Linked DNA regions of Homo sapiens: region 2 is linked to region 1. The links are contacts of gene promoters, found by promoter capture Hi-C in human tissues and cell types (Jung and others, 2019). All regions are on one chromosome and are shown on one strand. The core of a region is centred on a gene start or on the middle of the fragment in contact, and the rest is flanking DNA. Distances in the headings are between cores, read along the strand shown. Region 1 holds the start of SMARCC1 (SWI/SNF related BAF chromatin remodeling complex subunit C1). Region 2 overlaps P4HTM (prolyl 4-hydroxylase, transmembrane).

Evidence for each region. The method cuts DNA at HindIII sites, captures the fragments that hold promoters and counts their contacts. A contact is called where the count stands out against the background at its distance.
Region 2: a fragment that was not itself captured here is called in contact with the fragment with the promoter of SMARCC1 in region 1 in 1 of the 25 tissues and cell types used here (aorta).

What each region holds. Positions count from the first base shown.
Region 1 is chr3:47,776,463-47,783,697 of GRCh38, reverse strand. SMARCC1 (SWI/SNF related BAF chromatin remodeling complex subunit C1) reads left to right here and starts at 1,805. Exons shown (of 28, transcript NM_003074.4): 1 at 1,805-2,095. The coding sequence starts at 1,901. RefSeq lists silencers at 1,062-1,121, 1,232-1,281, 1,692-1,911, 2,092-2,331 and an enhancer at 1,565-1,859. The HindIII fragment of the contact is 21,057 bases long and covers 1-7,099 here.
Region 2 is chr3:48,999,507-49,006,399 of GRCh38, reverse strand. P4HTM (prolyl 4-hydroxylase, transmembrane) reads right to left here. Exons shown (of 9, transcript NM_177939.3): 3 at 4,772-4,962; 4 at 3,804-3,900; 5 at 2,140-2,302; 6 at 1,354-1,539; 7 at 533-623; 8 at 213-336. LOC124906235 (a long non-coding RNA gene) reads right to left here. Exons shown (of 2, transcript XR_007095904.1): 2 at 6,617-6,893. Among named protein-coding and RNA genes, the nearest start is that of WDR6, 4.4 kb to the left of the region's middle. RefSeq lists an enhancer at 1-231. The HindIII fragment of the contact is 8,927 bases long and covers 736-6,893 here.

The DNA.
Region 1 (7,235 bases), core at 556-3,055:
TAGAAAATACACATTAAACTTTTTGATAGTGATGGGTATTATGTCAGCAACTTACTCTTAGATGATTCAGGAAAAGTTCTTTGTATTATATTTGCAACTTTTCTGTTAAATCTGAGAAAGTTTCAAATTAAAAACTTTTTTTTTCAGACGAGTTTGGCTCTGTCGCCTAGGCTGGAGTGCAGTGGCGTGATCTCAGCTCACTGCGATCTCCACCTCCTCCTGGGTTCAAGCAATTCTCCTGCCTCAGCCTCCCGAGTAGCTGGGATTACAGGCATGCACCACCACACCTGGCCAATTTTTGTAGTTTTAGTAGAGACGGGGTTTCACCATGTTGGCCAGGGTGGTCTGGAACTCCTGACCTCGTGATCAGTCTGCCTTGGCCTCCCAAAGTGTTGGGATTACAGGCGTGAGCTATCTCGCCTGGCCCTCTTGATCACATTCTATTAACTTTTTTATTTAATATATTTTACTGTCCGTGACACAGCCCTCAGGAGATCCTGAAAACATGTACACACCCTCATTTTTAAAAGATCTCAGAAACTTACCAGCAGTTAGTCACGTTCTCACAAGCAATTAGTTACTTGCTTCTCTGCGATCATATAGCATTATGTTCACAACTCCATTATGGCCAGTCATACTTTTTATGTTTCTGAAACAGGGTTTCGCTCTGTCGCCCAAGCTGAAGTGTAGTGAGTGGCGCGATTATAGCTCACTGCAGCCTCCATCTCCCCAGCTCAAGGGATCCTCCCACCTCAGCCCTCCAAGAGGCTAGGACCACAGGCTTGCAACACAACGCTGGCTGATTTTTGTATTTTTTGTAGAGACGGGGATGGGTGTGGTGGTCTAGAGCTCCTGGGCTCAATTGATCCTCCCGCCTCAGCCTCCCAAAGTGCTCCGCACCCGGCCAATATACCTTGTTAATAATTTAAAAATTTTCGGCTTCTATGTGGGCCATTCATTAACTCATCAAGTATTTACTGTACATCTGTTCCTTGTCTCAGGTGTTCAGGATACACCTGTGAACAAGTTAAGATTAGGTTCTCATGTAATTTATGTGGAAGGTAAATGAGAAACTAGAAACGCCGGGTCGTGGTGAGCGCTATGCAGAAAGTGTATGGGTGTGAACAGTTGTTCAAGATTGTTAAGATCTGACAACTACTTTCTGAAGTCCTTTGAAGCAGTGAATCTGAACGCGTCTCGTAAGTGCAAATCAGAAGGGAAGACCTGCTGAGGTCTCGAAAGAGCCAGTGCAAGGGCCCCTGGGGCAGGAATGAGCCGCTGTGGCTGGACCCCTGAGGGAGTGGAAGGTCTGTGAAGCCGAAAAGCCTAGGCGTGGGAGTCCCAGATGGCTGTTCACAAATGCCGCCGGGCCGCTGGGGGTGGAGGGCCTGAGGGAAAGCGGGGCCCGGCGCAGTCCCAGTCCGGGTGCAGGGCCCTCGGCCAGCACTCGATACCCTAGACAGGCTTTCCCTTGGGCATTTCTCGCACCAGGCCTTTTCCCTCCAGCGGAGGCGGGCTATGACACATAACCCACCTGCGGTTGTTGACCGCATAATGATTCGACGTCGGTAGCGAGGGAAGAGCAAGGCTCAAAAACCGGCGCTCACTAGGGCAGAATGCAGCCTACGGAGGATGGCGGAAGAGGCGGCTGAGGCCGCAGGACGTGCTATTCCAAGGCACGGCCGCACGAGTGCTACGCATGCGCGTGCGCTGGCTCGCGTCAGATACAGTGCCAGTTCCCAGATGGGGCGGGGCCGGGCGTCCGCGCCGGAAGAGGGTTGGCTGGGCGGGGCCGGGAAGCGGCAGTGGCGGCTACGCGCGCGGGGGTGCGCGCGGGAACGACCGGGAAACACCGCGAGGGCCGGGGTGGGCCAGGCTGTGGGGACGACGGGCTGCGACGATGGCCGCAGCGGCGGGCGGCGGCGGGCCGGGGACAGCGGTAGGCGCCACGGGCTCGGGGATTGCGGCGGCAGCCGCAGGCCTAGCTGTTTATCGACGGAAGGATGGGGGCCCGGCCACCAAGTTTTGGGAGAGCCCGGAGACGGTGTCCCAGCTGGATTCGGTGCGGGTCTGGCTGGGCAAGCACTACAAGAAGGTGGGTTCGCGCGCCCGTGGGGGCCGGGAGACCACGCGACCGGGGCCGGAGGCGGCAGCTGGCCTCGCGGGCCTCGGGCCGCCCCTCCCCCCCGCACGCCACGAGGGACAACAAAGGCAGGCGCCGGGCCCGCCACGCCCCCGCCGCCCGCTCTGGGCGCCCGCGATCCCGGGGCCTGACTGGGGTTCGGGGCTCTCTCCTCTGAGCCTACGCACCCATGGTGAAAGCCCCTGCTCAGTCTCGTGTGCCAGAGCAGGTCGAGCTCAGCCACTAAGCGAGTGTGACTCTCTCTCTTTTGTCAGCTGCCTTAGGTGTGTGAACAATGATCCCTAAAGACCGAGCAAGCGTGGTAAAAGCAGCTTCAAGTTTTGTTTAGAGCGTATTCAAAGTCTCGAGGGGGTTTGCTACCTGTTGTTGAATTGCTAAACGACTGGGATGATTGTATTCGTTAATTAATAACAGGCAATATGAATTCTAGGATGGATGAGAACTATTAACGACGGTTCTACCTCATCGTGCTTCTGGTTCTGTGTGGCGTGAGAGTTGATGGTCGCTTGTACGTAAAGTGTTCTAAAGGGAGGCCTTCCCCAAGAACCCAGTTTTTATTAGAGCACTTTTCTTGTGTCACCTTTATTTTCTTCGTAGTGTTTACCACATTTTGAAATTATTCATTTACTGATTTCTCCTACCTTTGGAACGGAAGTTCCGCCGAGTCAGTAGTTTTCAAAGTTTTGACTTAATCCTTTGTTTATAACAAATGTTTTTTTTTTTTCCAACTTCCCTTTTGTGTAAATATTCAGGAGGACTCCCTTAAAGGGTGTAATGAAGCAGGTAGCCGAAAAGGCTCCCCAGCCTCTGAAGTTTTCCTATCACCCTCTTTAGTTCTGTACTTTCTCCTATTGAGAATCATAGCACTGAAGCAAGGGCTTTGTTCACTGCAGTGTATCCGGGAACGTGGCTGATACTTATTGCCTTACCCTTAGTGGCTGCTTAGTAAATATTTGTTGAATGAATGAAAACATAAACTAGTTTAGGAACCTATTTTTTTGGCCTCAGCAGCTCAGTGAAGCCTGTCAGTGTTTGGCAGTTATTAGGCATGGGCAGGGATCTTGGGTTCCTTTGGCATTACACGTGGTACATTCAGAAATGACCATTTCTGGCCGGGCGCGGCTTGGAAGGCCGGGCGGGTGGATCACCTGAGGTCAGGAGTTCGAGACTAGCCTGACCAACATGGTGAAACCCCGTCTTTCCAAAAAATACAAAATTAGTCGGGTGTGGCAGCACATGCCTGTAATCCCAGCTACTCGGGAGGCTGAGGCAGGAGAATCTCTTGAACCCAGGAGGCAGAAGCTGCAGTGAGCCGAGATTGCACCATTGCACTCCAGCCTAGGTAATAAAGTAAGACTGTCTCCAAAAAAAAAAAAAAAAAAAAAACAAAAAAAAACCAAAGACCCAGAAATGATCATTTCTTTCTTTCTTGTTTTTGAAGGTCAGCTAGAAAAATTACATTTCTTATCTGAAGTTTGAGGAAGTGAGAGACAGTAATTATATTTTTAGGTGTCTGGACTTTTCCTCCTCTGAAATTACATTTAGACTGTAGATTTTTAGTAATATTGCCCTTTCTTACACAGTGATAAATTGGTCACTTTTTAAATGTAAGTAATAGAGCTTCCAGAAGTGGCTAATGGAATTGAATATGTTATGAAAATATTGGTTAATTCTTCTTTATTACATTCCTTTTAGCCAATGCTTTGGGTCTTAAATTCAGTGAAGCTTTAACAAAGAAAAATAATCTACAGGCATATTCCTTTGAATAATATCAAGGAAGAGAGTAGAAAAAGGCAAATTTCAGTAATTTCTACCTCTCCGCACTGTTCAGTGTGCATCAGTTTGGGATCAACTACAAGAAGCTTTAGACATGGATAATCCTTCGATATTTGTTTGGGTGGGTAGGGAAGTGGCTACAAAGCAGTTTGAGGAATTGCCCAGCAGTATTGAGACCACTAGGCTAATGTTGATTCACTATCCCTGAGACTTTATAGACAAAGTTACCTTTGACTTCTCAGGACTTTGTAAAGCCAGAGTGTATTTCTAGGGTCTACTGAGATTGAGAAACGTATATACCCTAGGCCTGACAGCCAGAATCTTTTCAGTCTCTGGGTGTTAGCGTTGAAGTGGTGAAAATATTATCACAAAGTTCTTTGCTTCTTTTCTACACAGTGCATTTCTATTTGGTGTACGCATTGGTTTTAACTAACCGTTTCTAGTGCATTTAATACTGCATTTTCAGAGCAGACAACAGTTTCAGTCTCAGTAAACATGATTTTGTTAGTGTCATTTTTTATTTATTTTTATTTTACTTTATTTTTTTGAGACAGGGTCTTTCTGTGTTGCCCAGGCTGGAGTACAGTGGCGTGATCATAGCTCACTGCAACCTCAAACTCTTGCATTCAGCTCATGCATTCAGTGAACAACTGAGCATTTACCATGTGCCGGGTACTTAAAGTATAACTCACTTAAAGTCCTCATAGCAGTCCTAAATGATAGATATTATTTACCTTCTTTTTCAAATGGAAGATACCTGAGACTTCATTTAGGAATTTTCTTTTTTTTTTGAGACAGGGTCTTTCTGTGTTGCCCAGGCTGGAGTGCAGTGGTGAGATCATAGCACACTGCAGCCTCAACCTCCTGGGCTCAGGTGATTCTCCCACCTCAGCCTCCTGAGTACCTGGGACTACAGGCACGAACCACCACACCTGGTTAATTTTTTGTATTATCAGTAGAGGCAGGGTTTTGCAGTGTTGCCCAGGCTGGTCTCGAACTCCTGGGCTCTCTGCCTGCCTCAGCCTCCCAAAGTGCAGGGCTTACAAGTGTGAGCCACCACACTTGGCCCACACTGACTCTTACTTGAAATATTTTGAGACTAATAAATTTTTGTTTTCTTAAATAAAATATAATAGACTTTTTTTGATCAAAAGATTAATTGGGCCAGGTGCAGTGGCTTGCGTCCGTAATCCCAGCACTTGGGAATTCCAGGTGGGAGGTTCATTTGAGCCCAGGATTTGGAGACCAGCTTGGGCAACATGATGAGACCCTGTCTCAAAACAAAACAAAACAAAAAAATACATCAGTTGTGGTGGCATGCACGTGTAGTCCCAGCTACTTGGCTGAGGCAGGGTCCTTGGAGGATCACTTGAGCCTAGGAGGTCGAGGCTGCGGTGAACTGTGTTGGCACCATTGCACTCCAGCCTGGGCAACAGAGCGAGACCTTGTCTCAAAACAAAACGAAACAAAACAAAACAAAAAACAAAAACAAAAAAAAACCAGATTAATTGTTTATGACATAGAAATTAAAATTTCTTAATTAGGAGTCAGTGTTTTTTTTGTTTTTTGTTTTTTGTTTTTTTTTTTTGAGATGGAGTCTCGCTCTTCTGCCCAAGCTGGAGTGCAGTGGTGTGACCTCGGCCTCCCAAGTTGAAGTGATTCTTCTACCCCAGCCTCTTGAGTAGCTGGGATTACAGGCACCCGCCACCACGCTCTGCTAATTTTTGTTATTTTTAGTAGAGCTGGGGTTTCACCATGTTGGCCAGGCTGGGCTTGAACTCCTGACCTCAGGTGATCCGCCAGCCTCAGCCTCCCAAAGTACTGGGATTACAGGCATGAGCCACTGTGCCTGGCCTACATGCATTTTCATGTTTGGTAATTTGGTAGGATGATTTGGAAAAAAAATCTAATCAGAATTAAATATTTTATAGTTTATTAAAAATTGGACTGAGACTGGGGGCTGTGGCTCACACCTGTAATCCCAGCACCTTGGGAGACCGAGGCCGGTGGATCACCTGAGGTCAGGAGTTCGAGACCAGCCTGGCCAATGTGGTGAAACTTCTGCTCTACTAAAAATGCAAAAATTAGCCGGGTGTGGTGGCACATGACTGTAGTCCCAGCTACTCAGGAGACTGAGGCAGGAGAATCACTCAAACCTGGGAGGTGGAGGTTGTAGTGAGCTGAGATCGGGCCATTGCACTCCAGCCTAGGCTACAGAGCGAAAGTGTCTCAAAAAATAAATACATAAATAGAGACAGGGTCTTACTGTGTTGCCCAGACTGGTCTCAAATTTCTGGACTCAAAGTAGTCCTCTAACCTCGTCCTCCCAAAGTACTGGGATTACAGTCATGAGCCACTGCACCCGGCCTATATTCACTGTAGTTATTAAAAATATAGGCCGGGCATGGTGTCTCACGCCTGTAATCCCAGCACTTTGGGAGGCCAAGGCGGGCAGATCACCTGAGGTCGGGAGTTTGAGACCAGCCTGGCCAACATGGTGCAACCCCGTCTCTACCAAAAATACAAAAATTAGCCAGGCGTGGTGGCGTGCGCCTGTAATCCCAGCTACCCAGGAGGCTGAGGCAGGAGAATCGCTGGAACCCGGTGGGCAGAGGCTGCAAGTGAGCCGAGATTACGCCACTGCACTCCAGCCTAGGTGACAGAGCAAGACTCTCTCAAAAAAAAAAAAATAAATATTTACCTGAGGCCAGGTGTAGTGGCTCACGCCTATAATCCCAGCACTTTGGGAGACCGAGGCAGGCGGATCATCTGAGGTTGGGAGTTCGAGACCAGCCTGGCCAACATGGAGAAACCCCATCTCTACTAAAAATACAAAATTAGCCAGATGTGGTGACGCATGCCTGTAATCCCAGGTACTCGGTAGGCTAAGGGAGGAGAATTGCTTGAACCCGGGAGGCGGAGGTTGTGCTGAGCTGAGATCGCGCCATTTTACTTCAGCCTGGGCAACAAGATCAAAACTCGGTTTAAAAAAAAGAAAAAATATATATATATTTACATCTATATATTTACATATATGTTTACATATATATGTATATTTACCTGAAATGTTGATTTGGTTCCATCTGAACAGCCTTTTTCAAGGACATTGTCTTTTTCAGCTATAGAGTTTGGCATTGTTTAGTTAATCTGTAAAATACAGATTGTAGTTATTATTTTTGAGACAGTCTCACTGGGTCACCCAGGCTGGAGTGCGTGGCACGCTCTTGGCTTGCTGCAACCTCTGTCTCCTGGGTTCAAGCAATTTTCCTGCCTCAGCCTCCTGAGTAGCTGGAATTACAGGTGTGTGCCACTCTGC
Region 2 (6,893 bases), core at 3,950-6,449, 1.2 Mb before region 1:
TCAGGGAATGATAGGGATGGATATAACCCAATAAGCAGTACAGGTCCTGGGGCAGTCTGCTAAAGTCACTAAGGATGGCCTTTGGGAGGCACCAGGAGCAGAAAACTATTTGGAAAGCAGCCAGAAACAGCCCTCCATTGTGGCAGACGGGGGCTGGGTAAAGGGAAGCTGTACTCAGGGCACCCCCCCCAGGCCTGGCCATAGGCCCTCACCTTGCCCATCAGGCAGGTAGTTGTACCAGAAGACTGCTGTGCCCTGTTGGGGCTTGACACGCAGGTTTCCCTTGTCACAGTGCCTCCGTGTGTCACGGAGGTCCACGTCATCCTGAATCAGACTCTGTGGGCAGCAGGGTGGTGGGGTGTTCAACCTGTCCCCACTCTATGGCCAGGCCAGCCAAGGGTGACCAAAGGGAAACCAACCAGATATGCCCAAGGAATAATTTGGGCCCACATCCTTAGACCTGGAGAGGTGTGTACTTCACTTGTCTAAGCCCCTGCCAGCCCACAAGAGTAATAGCCCAGTTGACCCTTACCATTTCATCGTAGGTTCTGTTATCTGCTACAGGGAAAACAGTCTCGCCCCCACCAGTGACGTTGTTCAAATAAAACAGCACTGTCATGTAGCTGTAAGGCAGGGGGGGCACTGAGCAGGTCCCCAGTTGTGGATGCTCCCAGGGGCTTACCTGTGGGCAGGATAAGCTGCCCAGGTTCCTGTTGCCAGGGACCAGGACAGACTAGGATGGGAGACAATAGGGCAGGCCAGTGCCAAAATGTCCCTAGCCCCTCCTTCCCCGAAACCCAGTCTCTTACTGTGAGTTGCAATGGTTTTTTGGCCAAGATCACAGGTGCACTTAGTTAAATGCCATGGCCCTGAGCAAGGGCCTGGCAGGGAAAGGTAGGCTAGCAGAAGCAACAGGGCGCGCTGAAGGGCTCCTTGGGGATGGGAAGGGGCTGGGCCAGAACAGCCACCTGAAGAGGAAAGAACTGGCTTGACAGGGGAGGGAGGCACAGCTTCAGCTTCTCTAAGTGGAATCAAGATCAACACCTGGAGGAATGGGCAGGACAAGCTAGGGGCCCAGCCTTGCCCCTTGCTTCAGAACTCAGGGGGCAAGTTTTGGTGTCTGTGGGTACATCAGTCTGTGTTGACTCCAGTGGTCACGATGACCAGTAGCCACCCCTTTCCAGCCATTGGGTAAACAACTTGTGGGGAGAGGTGAGGGCATCACTAACCGGGATAACCCAGTGATCTCCTGGCCCCATGCCAAGGGGCACGCCCACAGTGCAGGGCTGTGCCTGTGTCATGGGTGTTCCTGGTCTGAGGATTGAAGGCAGCCCCCAGTTGGGAGATACTTGCCGGCAGGAGGTCTCGAAGGGTACAGACTCGTTGGCTACCAGCTTGGTATGGGAGCAGATGGTCTCTGGGTACACAGGCCCACTGTCCACGTGGGCATGGTAGTGGCCCCCCTCACCATATCGAACAACCTGCAGCGGCTCGCTGAGCTCCACGATCTCAGGCGACAGGCGAGTGAGGCGCAGCACCCTGGTGGGCAGCAGGCATTTGGCTGGGCAGCCCCAGGCAAGGTGGTGATCTGAAGGAGCTGGCCAAGGTGGACCCTAGGCCTGCCACAAGCTTTGCCCCTACCCACCTCCCCTGGAAGTCCCTTAAGCCATCTCAGACTGGCCCTGTAAGAGCAGGAGGGGGTTACTCATGATGATCCTTCTCCCTCAGATGCCAAAGACAGAGACACCTGCTATGTGGAAATGTTGACATTTCCACTAAATAAAGGGGGCGGGGAGTCCTGAGGTCCTCCTCCCTGGAAGAAAGTTGTTTATTTAAAAACCCTTTTCCTGCTGTGACGGGGTCAGATAAGGGGTCAAAGATAAGAGGTCATTTATCTAATCAGAAAGAAGTGCTCAATCTCTATCTAACCCCAGTTGCCCATTGTGTGCCTGCAAGGAGGGCTAATTTGCCTTTGTTAATTGCCTGTCTTTCAGTGGGTCCCAATCCTGGTCTAACAAATGGAACTTAATCCCAAATGGGTTAATCCATTCTGTCCTCTTGGCCCCAGACAAGGACTTCTGTGGAGGCCCTGCCCAGTCTTCTCCCCCTGCTCCAGTGAGAACAGCTTCAGGTGCTCACCTCTGGCGGATGGCACGCATGATGTGGTGGGCACCCTCACCCTGGTAGAGCCAGGTATGGTGGCTGTTCCGCACCAGCTCACTGGACTCTGCCTTGTGGCTCCTCATGTACTTGTGGAAGTCCCGAAGGTCCATGTTGGAGAACTCCTGCAGACTCAGCACTCCTGCACAGGGCACCCACCATCAATGCCCACCAAGCCCATATTGGGAGGCAACAGTGGCAGGCTGCACTTCCCTACCTACCCCAAAGGCAGCAGCAGCCCCTGACCTCAGGCACTGAGGGGCCTTGTACACTTGTCCCCCACCTGGACTTTTGGGTCAGATGAACCTGGTTTCTGTCACATCAGGCCTTACAGGAAGACCCAGAGCAGTTCCTTTTCTCAGTTTAAGCCCTAATTTGGCCCTAAGAAGAAAGAGGCCCACCCCCTATTAGAGTGGCCAGAGAAGGTTCTCCAAAGGAAGCTTGAGCCATATGGCCAGGACCCTGGCCTTCCAGCCTGGCTATATAGAGTGGTGGCCACTCTCCGGCCTGTGGAGGGTGAGGAGAGAGCAGGCAGTGCTGGGCCTCATCCAGGGCCTTACATACATACGCCAGGGTGCAAGCAGGGCCAGCCCCCGGGGAGTTCCTCATGACCCCAGGTTTCATCCTGGGTGGAACCTACTTCGCCAGCCCTGCCTACTGCGTTACCAGCCCACCTTAGCAACGAAAGTCAGGCCACCCCCTCTCATGAGAACATTCTCCACTGTCCCTGCTCAAACCATTAAGCAGGGGTTCTACCCTCTTGGGGTTCTGGAAGAGTAGTTGGTATCTTTGCTCCATGTTATTCTGGCTGACCCAAGGACATCACCTTCCACTCTTTGGCCCAGATTCCTCTGAGGGTGGGGGACATTCAAGGGCTGTGAGACTGTCACCACCTCTGTTCTGGGGCCTATAGCAGTGTGGCAGCCATCCAGCCACAGGTCACGGCCAGATTCTTCACTCTGGTTCACCAGCCGCAAAGCCACTGTTCCAAGTCCTTTCTAACTGCTGTATCTTCCTCTCTTGGTCCAGAATTTGGGCATGAGGGTGATGACCACACCTCAGAAACCTCCTGAGAGTTATTACCAGAGGGGGCACCACTTGCATGACAGCTTCCCTGCCCACCCCTCCCCAGCAGTTAGCACAGGTAGCAGCACTACCATTTTAGGCGCTTCGGCATGACTCCAGGTGGACAAGAGGAAGGCAAGGGAGATCTCACTTAGACCAGGGAAGCTGTCTGCTGGGGTGGACCTCGTGTCTGGCTGGAGAGATGGATGGAGCAGGGTAAACAGCCAAGCTCTAGCTGGCCTCACTGTCGCCTTGCTCCTGCTCCACCCACTCTGTTCTCTGCCAACTAGCAGCCCTACTTCCTGTCCCCAGGCTCTCAACTCTGCCTGATGTTATCAAAAGGGTCTCCAAGAACTGCCCTCGAGACCATCACCAAGGGGAACGGGGGGCCTGGCTGCCTGCCTACTTCCCAGGGGTAAAAAGCAAGGCTGGATCTTCACCTCCCCATCTCTGGCCACTATAAAGGGGTGCAGAGAGGCTGCCTGGCTGTGGGGGAAGGGCCCAAGTTTTCAAAATTGTGCACCTGGGAGTGGGCAGGAGGCTCACGGGGATAGGACTGTGCAGAGGTGTGAGCTCACCGTCACCATCAGGGTCAGCCTTGATCGCGGCGTACATCTCCTGAATGCTCTCTGGAGTCATCCACCATCCATTTCCCAGGCGAGTCTGGGCCAGAACCTAAAGCATAAGAGGGTCCCTCAGTGGGTGACCCCAGTGATGGAGAGCCAGCAGAGAACAGATGGCCCAGTGCTTGTTGTGGAGCAAAGTGTTCAGGTGAGGGCATGGATGAGGACACAGGGCAGAGCCCATTGGGCCAAAGTGAGTGCAGGTAGAAAGGTACAGAGCATCTGAGGAGAAGGCCGGGGGCTGGGGGTCAAGAGGCGTAGGCCATTTGCATTCCCGGACTAAGGCCCCGTGGCCTTCATGGAGAGCACTGTTGGTTGGAAGCAGAGTGAAGGACAGGCCTGTGTCCCACTCAGATACTCCGGGTGAGATGGGGAAAGCCAAGTCCTGGGTGTTAAGGGAGAACAGGCACCAGGGGGAGACCTGGTTAGGGCATGACCACCAGATCCCTCAGAAAGACCAGGCTCAGTGGGGTGTTCTGTGTGGGCAGTGCCCCGCACCACCACCCTGCCAGACTTCTCTCAGAAGCTTGGCCCTCCAGCCTGGCTGTAGAGTGTGTGAGAGTTATGCAGAGAGAGAGGCAGGCTGCTGGCCACCTCAGAGCTGCCACCCCATCCACCATGAGTTCTGTGGGGCCCCCAGCCATGAGAGCAAGGAATGCAGGCTACAGAGGTGCATCCCTCCAAAACTATGGTGATAAATGCCATCACCCCCAGGTGGATTCTCCTGCCATCTTCTGAGGTTCCCAGGGTAGCCAAGAGCTCTCCAGAGGGAAAGGGGACCTCCTGGGTCTGGGCATGCCCAGGCAGGTCTGGGTAGTATCTGACTTTTGGGACCAGGCCTGGGCTGGACAAGTGACCTGGCCACCAGAAAGGTGATTCTGGGCACTCCCACCCTGAGCCTACTCAGGTCCCAGGATTCCAACCTCACGGAGCTGAAGGTGCCCATCACGGTTCTGGTCCAGCAGCCGGAAGAGGTCCAGCTGGCTGACCTGCATAGTGCTCATTGCCTCTTCATACTCTTCAGTAGGCAGGATCTGGCTGCGCTGTAACCCCTTCATCTGCGCCAGATGGATGATGAGCCGACACTCTTCATCAGTCAGGAAGCCGGGGATTTCTGCCAGAAGAGGAGGTGGGTGAGGCCAAGGACTGAGCCAGGGCGCTGGTGCACCCAGTACCTTCCTCCCTTCAGGGTTCCTGGGGTACTGCATGTCCCTCAGTGGCCACCAGGTCTGGAGGATGGAGGATTTTACAGACCCCTTGATTCTGACTTGTCAAGATTGAGTTGTCCTGCAAAGGCTGGCTGGCGTTGGAAATGTGGGACCTCTCTTGATGATGAGAGCACACATTTTCCAGGAGAGCCCTGGGAGGTGAGCCAGAGCTAACCTGGATATGGGCTGACCCATCTTTGGGTTGGGACTGAAGGCTAGAGAGTGATCCTGAAGGGCAGAGGCTTGATTGCTACTTTTTACTGGGTATAAATATTTAAAGTGGGGAGATGGTGGCTGCTTCTTGCTTTCATTTTAACTTTTCAGCATTATTCAAATAAAAACAGCACAAGACATCCAATGTTTCAGGCCAGTCCAAGGGCCTTCCCCTCCAATTTCCTGCAAAGATGGGTGCTGGCCATCTGACCAGGGCTGAGTTGCCCAGTGCTGGAAGATCAGTGAGGGTTACTCAGGTTTTGGGCAGATACTGGTCTCTGAAAAGATGTCCCAGGTGTCCTTTGCTTCCTTGATTCCTTCCCTGGTACAAATGTTCACTTAGTGCCTACTCTATGCCTCTACACCCCTGAGTAAAGATCAGTCAGGCCTGGGGCTTGGCTTCAGTGGCTGGCTGCCTGCACACCAGGCACAGCTGGTAGGTGGCTTGGTGGAGCTAGAACCTGAGCCTCACATCTAGGGAGCCCACATTCTGGTAGCCCCAGACACTTCCAGAGCAGGAGCATGGGCCCTGCTTCCTTCCCTTGTTCCTGGGAGAGCGGTCTTCACTGGAGGACAAGAAGCACGCAGAGGAGCTGACTGGAGGAAGGGCAGCACTGCTACCTGCGGAGTGGCCTGCCGCTTCTCTCAGTTACACTTCCAGCACAAAGTTCCAGTCATTGCCAAGAGGAAGGAAAATGGTCACTCAGCACCAGGGTTGGAGCTTTTTTTATTTTTTTATTTTTTGTAGAGATGGAGTCTCCCTATATTGCCCAGGCTGGTCTCAATTTCCTGGGTTCAAGCTATCCTTCCACCTCGGGCTCAAAAGTGCTGGGATTATAAGCATATGCCACCACACCTGGCCTGGAGTGGTTTTTAATAGTAATTACAGCAGAAAATACTTAGGTAGCACAGACTCTGCCCAAGGCACTGTCCTAAGCACTTCATACACATCAACTCCTTAATCCTTATACTTACCCTAGGAGGCCAGGCCCCATTAATTCAACCTTCCTATCTAAGAGGAAACCCAAGCACAGAGAAATCAGTGCCTTGCCACTGGCCACCCAGCCTGCTGTGTTCCAGAAACCATGCTCATGACCAGATTCAGCTACTAGGAGCAGGTGACCCTGATGTGATAACACTGAGGATAGGACAAAGGCCCCCACTCTTGGCCTGCATGATCCCGTGACCCCAGCAAACCCAGAAAGGGTGTGATCCAAGGGGAGACAGCCCTGTGGAACAATGGATTAGATCAAATTGCAAATCAACAGAGTCACCTCTTGATTGCTTAACACACAAAATTTAAAAAGAAAGAAAAAGGAAGCCAGAAAAAGAAAAGAAAACACAGGCCCAGGTTTCTTCAGTTTATTAGGTGCCAGTAATCTGCAAGCCCAGTGGAGGTGCCTCCAGCCTCTACAGTCCCCTGCTGTGTGCTAATCAAAAACAAACAGCCCAGTCAGCATGTTGGGGCCTCACCAGGTGGGTCCGGGCACCTCGGAGCTGTGCAAACCCCTGCAGGATCTCCTCTGTTGGCTCCCTGGGTGCAGGAACAGCCCTATAAAACCCTCAACCTCAGTTCATTAAGGCCAAGGCACAGAAGGCAGTGATGGAGCAGGGGCTGTGGCTG